Linked DNA regions of Homo sapiens: region 1 is linked to region 2. Evidence: promoter capture Hi-C in 16 types of primary human blood cells and fetal thymus (Javierre and others, 2016). All regions are on one chromosome and are shown on one strand. The core of a region is centred on a gene start or on the middle of the fragment in contact, and the rest is flanking DNA. Distances in the headings are between cores, read along the strand shown.

Evidence for each region. Contacts are between HindIII fragments. The CHiCAGO score rates a contact against its expected background, and 5 or more counts as called.
Region 1: a fragment that was not itself captured here is called in contact with the fragment with the promoter of TOMM20L in region 2 in 2 of 17 cell types (total CD8 T cells and naive CD8 T cells); the score reaches 5.6 in total CD8 T cells.

What each region holds. Positions count from the first base shown.
Region 1 is chr14:58,093,361-58,098,367 of GRCh38, reverse strand. ARMH4 (armadillo like helical domain containing 4) reads left to right here. Exons shown (of 8, transcript NM_001001872.4): 5 at 1,387-1,644. Among named protein-coding and RNA genes, the nearest start is that of ARMH4, 56 kb to the left of the region's middle. The HindIII fragment of the contact is 3,626 bases long and covers 1-3,457 here.
Region 2 is chr14:58,393,940-58,399,010 of GRCh38, reverse strand. TOMM20L (translocase of outer mitochondrial membrane 20 like) reads right to left here and starts at 3,081. Exons shown (of 5, transcript NM_207377.3): 1 at 2,918-3,081; 2 at 2,670-2,713. The coding sequence starts at 3,053. TOMM20L-DT (TOMM20L divergent transcript) reads left to right here and starts at 3,306. Exons shown (of 2, transcript NR_187161.1): 1 at 3,306-3,710. RefSeq lists silencers at 2,634-2,683, 2,754-3,273. The HindIII fragment of the contact is 7,740 bases long and covers 1-5,071 here.

The sequences.
Region 1 (5,007 bases), core at 395-2,894, 300 kb after region 2:
CTAGTGTCTGCAACGGCACCCGTTAGGGGGTTGATACATATTTGTTGAATTTTTAGAATAGTGACAGACATTAATCCTACAAAGTTAAAGGACATATAAGAATAAAAAAAGATTAAAGGTGATTTTTTTTAAAAGTTAAAAAGCCTCTGAATGATAGAGGAAAGGTAGTATGGGTGGAGAAAGTTGTGTAGAAGCAGAAAAGGAGAGTCTCACAATTCTTGGGTGGCTCCAGTTCTTCTTCTTCCCTTCTTTTCTCCACCATAGGAGGAGAATTACCTGTTGCAGTAACTGCTGTGCCGAGAGTCAAGGGGAGAGAGCAAAGGGAAGGCCTTCTGTGAACTTTGTGGGCACTTACCAGGGGCTTCAGAGGTGCATCCATGGTGAGGATGGGGCCTTGAAGTATTACTAGGAAATTAACATTGGTGAAACAAAATGAAATTGGGAATCATATGTTCCTTAAACCCACTCCACTTGGAGCATTGAAAATGACAGCTTGTGGTGAAGTGCCATGGCTCACGCCTATAATACTAGCATTGTGGGAGGCCGAGGGAGGAGGATGGCTTGAGTCCAGGAGTCTGAGACTGTGGTGAACCATGATCACGCCACTGCACTCCAGCCTGGGTGACAGAGCAAGACTCCGTCTCAAAAATAAATAAATAAATAAATAAAAAATAAAAAAAAAAAAATCAAGAAAACGACGAATTGTGAATGTTAACTCTTACAATGAAGATAATGGTAATTTTTAATGTGCTGCCTTTCTGACCACTCCTGGTGAATATCCCACTTCCCAATTCCTTTAGAGTTGGATTGAGAATGTTGATGCAATTATTTCCAGTTTCTTGGATTACTCTTCCTTAGAGAGAACAAGATCCAAGAGTGAATTTATGTGCTCCTCACTTACCATTTTTGTGAGTTCTACTCACTGATGTGGATGAATAGAAAAAGCTGTGCCAAAATAATGAATTGTCTCCTTTAACATTATGAGCTATAAAGGGATGGGAACAGCTTCTTTTAAGTTCTGTTAGTATTTCACAGTGTGCTAACTGATAAACTTTTAATGATCTCCAGAAAACAGCAAGGGGATGTTTACTACCCTTGTAAATATAAATAACTTTAATAACAAATCATATTACTTGAACTTTGACTCCCAGTAAACATAATACCTGATACTTATCTGACATAACTATGGTTTTGAAAGTTTAAACTCTAGGACATATGGTGGGTGTATAATCCTGCAAAGTTCACATTGTCTGACTTTGGCTATAAAGATGTGTTTCAAAAGGCCAAACAATTATTTTGTAGTGTTTGGATCATTTCCAAGGATTCATTTGTTTCAGCATAAACTCATTATATGTTTATGCTTCCCTTTGATTTCTTTTTGCCTAGAGGGACAAGAAGATGAGGATGAAGAGGATGAAGAAGATGAAGATGAAGAAGAGGAAGATGAGGAAGAAGATGAGGAAGATAAAGATGCAGACTCGCTGGATGAGGGCTTGGATGGTGACACTGAGCTGCCAGGTTTTACCCTCCCTGGTATCACATCCCAGGAACCAGGCTTAGAGGAGGGAAACATGGACCTGTTGGAGGGAGCTACCTACCAGGTGCCAGATGCCCTCGAGTGGGAACAGCAGAATCAAGGCCTGGGTAAGAGTCATGTGTATTTCCCTTTTCCTCCCTTCTCCCCTCCTTTTATATTTCTCAGATGACAGCCTTCTTTCATTGCCATCTATTGTAAAGAAAAATGGATTTTCTTTGTTTATGGGTGGTTTCTACATTTATGGGTGGTTAAGAATATAAGTATAAACTCACCGAAGAAATAACTGATAATTAAAAATTAAAAATGATCACTTATTTCTTCGATGAGTTTATATTTATGCCCTTAAGTAGCCAGGCTCCAAACAGTCTCCAGCTGCCTATTATGAGTACAGTTGCCTGATGTTTGGAAGAAATTCAGTTTTTCCTTCCCAGTTGGGAGACAGTTGTAGGCTTTAGGAGGACATCCGCACAGGGAGGAGATACGTGTAACCAGGATGTTGGACAAGCAGCACCATGGGACAGAGTCGAAGAACAAATGCATTTTTTGTTCCGCTCTGTCCTTTGGGAATCTATTACCTAGGGGAAGTTCTTCCCCTGCTTGTGGGTGAGCAGTTGGGCAGTCCCATGATTTTTCTGTTCAGACTTGTGGCTGCATTACCTTGTCAAACACGATTTCATTTCAGCAGCTAGGGTGGCCAGACCACTCCATGCTCACTCTCTCTTATTCATGGCCCGTGCTTGTGGTGAGAGACTTGGAGGATGCAGGCCGCTCCTCAGCTCAGCACTTCCTTCCACATCGACAGGGAAGCTCCCCAGTCTGTCCCTCTCCTCTTGTCAGGGGAGACGCTATTAAGCTCTCAGTGACTCCTTGAGGCCCTATTCCCTTGACCTGAGGTGAATTAATCTCTTCTCCAAGGAAACTCTTCTCTAAAATGCTCCTAGTCTTTAACAGCTAGGCCCATTGATTCCTTCAGTGTGGCAGATGTTAGGGTTAAGAGTCAGAAAAACTGGTACAAATACTAGTTTTGGGGATATGTCATTGAAAACTTGTAAGTTGGTCTGGGCCTTTGCTCTGGATGTAATTCTGGGAGTTGCACTCTATAGATTGGCATACAGGTTGTAGTTGACATGTAGCTGGGATTTCCTGTGTAATATGCTATAGGAAGGAGAGAAGATAGTAAGGGATGGGCTTCCAGTGGACAGACAAGATTTCTTGAATTACTTTCTGGCCAAATTCAGCATGCATTGGGCAATGATTACTTTAAAAACATGTCACATGAAACTGGTAAAAACTTATAAGGGTATCAAAACATTATAATATCAAAATACTATAAAACAAACACAAAATAAGATTATCTCTGGTCTGTGAACAAGTGAATGAATATTTAGTCTGAAATGCTTCTGTTCTACATGAACAGGTTTGAAATGAATGAAATAAGATACAAAATACAAAGATAATTTATACCGAACAGGTTAAAAACAGACACAAATCTACACGTAAAGTGACTCCTCGGGTTGTGCACAGCTTTATACTATGGAGGTATCATGTACAGTTAAACAGCCTTTCAGTATGGATGGGATGATATTCGGATGCTCTAGTACTTTACCGGAGAGAGGAGCGAGGGAGACAGGGTTGCCTTAGCACAGAATTAGGAACATCATATGGCATCTACCCTGGATTGTGATCAAAGAAATGAAGTCTCACCACTTATGAAGTGGACTTACCATCTTTGAGTAATTATAAGTAATTAGAGGGTCTTAGAAAACTATAAGGAGGCTCTGAATCAAGGCTAAAATGATCATTTGGGCTGTGGTATTATCATGCTCCTCAATGCAAATTTACCACTGAATAGGAGTCAAGTTTTTAAGGAATCAGCTTTACTGAGGTATGTATTATACACAATTGCACCCACTGAAAGCTTATGATTTGATGAGTTTTGAGAGTTGTATACACCCATGCAACCCCCATCACAATCATGCCGCAGAGCATTTCCATCATCCCACCACCAGTGATTCCTCATGCCCCTTTGCAGTGCATCCCTCCTCCAGTCCTCAACCCCAGATAACCACTGGCCTTTGGTCACTATAGATTAGTTTGCATTTTCTAGAATTTTGTACAAATGACATCATATGGTATATACCATTTTGTGTCTGGCTTAGATCACTTAGCATAAAGATTTTGAGATTCAACTATGTTGTATGTATCAGTAGTTTGTTCTTTGTTATATATAACATACACACATGTACACACATGCACACACTCACATACACATCCACACACATATATATAGCTGACTAGTATTCAATTGTATGGATATACCATGTTTTGCTCATCTAGTCACCTGTTGATGAACAACTGAGTTGTTCCCTGTTTTGGCTAATAGCAGTTAAATTTTAAGGCTTGTCAGGCTTGAGGCTTAGGACAAAAAGCTCTGTTGTCCTCCTGTTCTGACTCCTGATTTCAGTCCCCTTGCACAGCTAAAGTTCTTTTTTTTTTTTTTTGAGAAAGCGTCTCACTCTGTTGCTCAGGCTGGAGTGTAGTGGGGCGATCTCGACTCACTGCAAATTCTGCCTCCCGGGTTCAAACAATTCTCCTGCCTCAGCCTCCTGAGCAGCTGGGACTACAGGTACCCACTCCCATGCCCAGCTAATTTTTGTATTTTTAGTAGAGACAGGGTTTCACCATATTGGCTAGGCTGGTCTCAAACTCCTGACCTTAGGTGATCTGCCCGCCGTGGCCTCCCAAAGTGCTGGGGTTACAGGCATGACCCACCGTGCCCAGCCACAGCTTAAGTTTCTTAAATTAGTGATACCAGTTTAGTAATTTTTTATTCTTTTAAAAATGACTTCTCCAGATCCTGAGTTTTAAAAATATATCAGACTTTTTCTTATTATTTACTATTTCTCTAGGTGTCTCTTACTTTCTGCTGTTGCTTCTTTTTCTAATAAATTCATTTTGTCAACATGTTTTCAGCATTGTGGGTTTCCTGGGAACCAAAGCAAGGAACAAATATTTCAAACTGTTCTTCTCACTGAGAAGATTGTGTTTGAGGAGTATCTGGGTCTAGAATTTTATTAGCCCACCAACCTTTTCTCGGAAGGACAGGAATATCTCCTAGTAATTCAAAACCAATAACAACTTCTGGATCAATATTAAATGGTTCAGTTTACTAAAGACTCTGAGGTCAGGTAAAATAGTAGAAACTCTTTCCTTCTTTGTGATGGATTTTGTGATAATGGCTCCCCGAAGATGTCTATGTCCTAACATCTGGAACCTGTGAATAAATTACCCTACATGGAAAAAGAGACTTTACTGATTTGATTAAATTAAGGATCTTTAGGCTGGGCACAGTGGCTCACACCTGTAATCCCAGTGCTTTAAGAGGCTGAGGCAGGAGGATTGTTTGAGGCCAGGAGTTTGAGGACAGCCTGGGGAACATAGCAAGACTCCATCTCTACAAAAACTGCAGA
Region 2 (5,071 bases), core at 1,832-4,331:
GAGACTGAGGTGGGAGAATCACCTAACCCCAAAAGGGTTGAGGCTGCAGTGAGCTGTGATCATTGCCACTGTACTCCAGCCTGGGCAACAGAGTGAGACCCTGTGTCAAAAAAAAAAAAATTAGAATAGAGTTGTGACAATTATATGAAAGGACATTTGAAAATCCTGCTTGTGCTGCTTCTTCACTTGAAATAATTTATTATTTCATATATGGGAAATAATATTAACAATTTATTATTAATAATTATTGATTTATATCAATAAATGATAGTGTGACTTAGTTATGGCTTAATATGAATATAATTAGATTATATTATAATTAAAATATGATTAATTTATATTAATATAAATCATTTATTATTTCCCATATGAACTGCCATTGACTGATTTTCTTGTCTTCAACTTCCTTTCTCCACACTGGAACCAGAATTGTCTTATTTAAAAAATAAAACCAAAATAATTGTGTCTGTTCTCTGAAATAAAGTCACCATCATTAGTTATCCACCACAACAGAAAAATGTCCTGACTTTTCAGTTTGGCATTCAAAGTCCTCCACGGTAAGACACTAAACTGACCCTCAGCTATCTCTCTGGCCATAATACTCCTTGAACATTACAATTTCATGTTCTGTGCCTCTGCACAAGGTGTTTCCCTCTGCCTACAATGAACAACAATATTCAACAAACATTTGCTGGGCACCTACCGCACTAGACTCTGTTCTAGGCACTGGAAACAATGGAGAGTAAAAAACAAAGTCTGCCCTCACACAGCTTAGTGTAATAAACGGAAAGCATTAATCAAATAATTACACAAATGTGCAAGTGAAACCATGGACAATGACGAGGGACATGGAGCTGTATCAGGCTCTGTCTCAGTCAAGTCAGGGAAGGTATCTCCACTCCCATGTCCAGCTCTTTGGACACTCCCTACCCAGCTAACTATGTCAAATGGGCTTTTATTCTCTACTGTGATTCCATTTTGAAACCCCGGAAGTGTCTTTGACTCCGCCTCTCCATTACCCTTTACTCAGTCGGCATGAACTGTATTCTTCCCAGTTACCACTACCACCACCATAGTTCAGGATTTTTATTACCTCTCAACTAAATTGCTGCAATAGCTTGTTTTCTTTTCCAATCCATTAAGTACACTCCTGCTTGATCAATCTAAGAATATTTCTCTTCTGCCTTTCTTTCCTTCTTTTTAAAAAATTCCTGCTTAGAAATCTTCAGTAATTCCTCCATTGAATCTCAGTTCCTTAACCTGGCCTTCAAAGCAAGCCTTCCCTAATTCAATCCTACTTTCGCTCTCCAACCTTACCACCCACTATTCCTCAGTATGACTCCTTTGCCAAACTGGTTTACTGAATGTGCTTGGCAGATGCCCCACTTTGCATCTTTATGCACATGCTGTTCCCTCCATCCTGTATCCTCTCCCCTGAAACCAAGCCACAAATTCATCATCCTTCCAGGCTCAGTTCAATGCCACTTCCGCTACAAAGTCTTCTCCGGAAAAACTGCATGTTTCAAAAATGGCTACCGCAATATTCCCGGTCACACAAGTGCTTTCAAAACCTTGCCATCCCTGTTGAGAGGTAGAATCTATTTCCTCTCCCTTTAAATTGAGTAGGCTTCAATGTTGCCAGAAGTGGTACCATCTGCTCTTCCACATGGGCACATGTTCTAGTTCACATGCATGTGCGTGCTCTCTCTATACACAGACACACACACACACACATATATATACACACATACATATATGTGTTTGCTTGTCCCTTGGGACACAGCCCATCACACAAATGAAGAATCCCAGATCACACAGACGTGTAGGTGCTCTGGCTAACAATCTCAGCTAAGTAAACATCCAGCATCAACTGCGGATTGCTTGTGGCCAGGAGTTCTAGTTCAGCCTGGGCAACATAGGAACACCCTTGTCTCTTTCTTTTTTTATAGACAGTGTCTTGCTCTGTCGCCCAGGCTGCAACTGCCACCTCCCGGACTCAAGCAATTCTCCTGCCTCAGTCTCCCAAGTAGCTGAGACTACAGGCACACGCCACCACTCCCGGCTAATTTTTGTATTTTTAGTAGAGACAGGCTTTCACCATGTTGGCCAGGCTGGTCTCAAACTCCTGACCTCACGTGATCTGCCCGCCTTGCCTCCCAAAGTGCTGGGATTACAGGCGTGAGCCACCAAGCCCGGCCCGCCTCTTAAAAACAACAAAAAAGGGACTAATCAAATTTTGCCGCAGAGATTTACAAAACACGAAGATGCCTTCTGCTTCTGAGCTACAAGAAAGGCCCTGCGGGAGAACAATCTAGAAGTTACTGCCATGTGACCGTGGCCAGCCTGGGTTTTTAAGTGTCCTGTGCGGCTCTGACAGGGCAAAAGGCTCCTCTTCCTTCTTCCAGTTAAAAGAAGTGCCTGTTGTACAGTGTTTTGCTTTGCAGCTGCCTTTTTATAACTCCAACTTCTTCCTCCTTCCTTCCCTCCCTTTTGTGAGAGGAGAGTGACTGGGCCTGAGGCGGTGCGTGGCGCGCGAGGGCAGGCCTCTTCCCGGGCACGGGCGGCTGAGGGAACTAACTACCTGCTGCCGAGCCCGCCAGGAGCCAAGCAACCCAGCGAGCCCGGACCTGCGTCTACTGAGCTACCTGTGCGGATCGAAAGCACTGCACCTGCGTGCCCTGCTCCTCAGCCTTTTGAGGCTCTGCTCTTCTTTCTGCGAACACAACACGGCACATGCTGGCTGGGAGGCCCGTCCAGAGGCACGCGTGGGCCCAGTGGTCCTGCCTGCCCGGGCGCCGCGGGCCCCTCGGCAGAGGCTGAGGCACTCACGGCCCGGCCTCTCAGTGGGGGGCCCTCCCGGCCGGCAGCCCGCCCGCGCTGCCCGGCCCGGCCGCGCCTCCGCCTCGGTCCCACTCACTGTCCCGCAGGCGGCGCTTGAACGCGGGGTCCCCGCGCCGCTTCCGGTTGAGGTAAATACAATAGCCCAGGAAGGCGAAGGCGCCACAGGCCGCCGCGGCGGCCAAGAGGCGGAGGAGGGAGCGGACGGAGGGCATCCGACCGCGGGCGTCCCACAAGCCGAGCGTTGGGCGCGGGCCGGCCGGCAGGGGGCGTCGGCGCGGCGGCCCATCCGGCCTCGGGGCCTCCTGCGCACCCAGCTGCGCGTTGACGCCTCGCACCCAGGCTTGCGGACCGATGAGGAAGCCGAGCGTTCGAGAGGGTGTGTGCGGGAGCCCTCACAGCCACAGAGTAGCAGAGCTCTGTTCGAACCTACGTCTGTCGCACTCCAAATTCTGAACCCTTTCTCCAAACACGCCTCTGCCCCTGTGTCTACAACACCCATTCAGGCAAAGCACAGTATGCTGCGAATCTGCTTTACTGGGAGCCAGTGGTCGTTTAGGTCTCTGTTCCCTCACCTGCAAAATTAAGTTGACTCTAAGGTCAACTTTGGTCACCTCCTAGTTCACATTGTCTAACAGTAGCCCGTACTCCCCAATCTGGTATCCTTTGTCTCCTGAAAGGACCCAGCAGTCCAAGGTCCAAGGGAGGAATTCAGAAGCAACACTGTTTAATCTAGAAAAATACGTTAAATTGCTGGGCTGAGACTGACAGTCAAAGGTCCCAAAGCAAAAACAACTGAGAGTCCCATGATACTGGCCTAGCTGCTTTTCTAATATTTGCCTTACTCAGCGGACACAGCAGAAAGAAAGAAGGTAAGACTTTGTCCTAAATACCAGAGTTCTGACTTTTCTACTAAGGAGGAGAAAAGGCATAAGCTAGGGACCTAAAGAACTAGATAATTCATTTTTATTTAGGTTATACAATTGCTATTTACTGATTTACAATTTACTGTTATTACTAGTGTGTGCATAGCAAGGTGCTCATCACTGCTCTGAATACCAGTGGGTCTAGCTAGGTGCAGTGGCTCACAACTGAAATCCCAACACTTTGGGAGGCTGAGGTGGGAGGATCACTTGAGCTCAGGACTTGGAGACCAACCAGCCTGGGCAACATTGCAAGAACCCATCTCTAAAAAAACAAAACAAGGGCCGGGCACAATGGCTCATGCCTGTAATCCCAGCACTTTGGGAGGCCGAGGCAGGCAGATCACAAGGTCAAGAGTTCGAGACCAGCCTGGCCAACATGGTGAAACACTGTCTCTACTAAGAATACAAAAATTAGCTGGGTGTGGTGGCATGTGCCTGTAATCCGTTACTTGGGAGGCTGAGACAGGAGAACTGCTTGAATCCGGGAGGCGGAGGTTGCAGTGAGCTGAGATTGTGTCACTGTACTCCAGCATGGGCAACAGAGCAAGACTCCGTCTCGATAAAACAAAACAAAAAAATACTGGTCGTGGTGTGCACCTGTAGCCCTAGCTACTCTGCAGGGATCACTTGAGCCTAGGAGTTGGAGGCTGCAGTGAGCTCTGATCACTGCCACTGCACTCCTGCCTGGGTGACAGAATGAGACCCTGTCTCTATAAAAATACATAGGTGGCTGGGCGTGTTGGCTCACGCCTGTAATTCCAGCACTGGGAGACCGAGGTGGGTGGATCACCTGAGGTCAGGAGTTTGAGACCAGCCTGGCCAACATGGTGAAACCTCATCTCTACTTAAAATACAAAAATTAGCTGGGCATGGTGGCACAAGCCTGTAATCCCAGCTACTTGGGAGGCTGAGTCACGAGAATTGCTTCAACCCAGGAGGCGGGGAGGTTGCAGTGAACTGAGATCAATCACACCACTGCACTCCAGCCTGGGCAACAGAGTGCGACTCTGTCTCAAAAAAAAAAAAAAAAAAATATATATATATATATATATATATATATATATAGAGATAGATAGGTAAATTATAAATTAGTAGATAGATTAAAAAACCAATGGGTCTGAGTAGTAGCCTCAGCCCTCAAAATTTAAGAGTTAGCAGGGGTAAGTTACATATCATGCTTTCTTGAGTACTGTATGTTTTTTCTCATGATAATTGTCTTCTAGAAGGGAACTTGGTTATTGTGAAAACCTGATTGTAAACACAGAGGAGAGGATAGTGTCAGCATCTTGTAAGTATTACTGGTGATC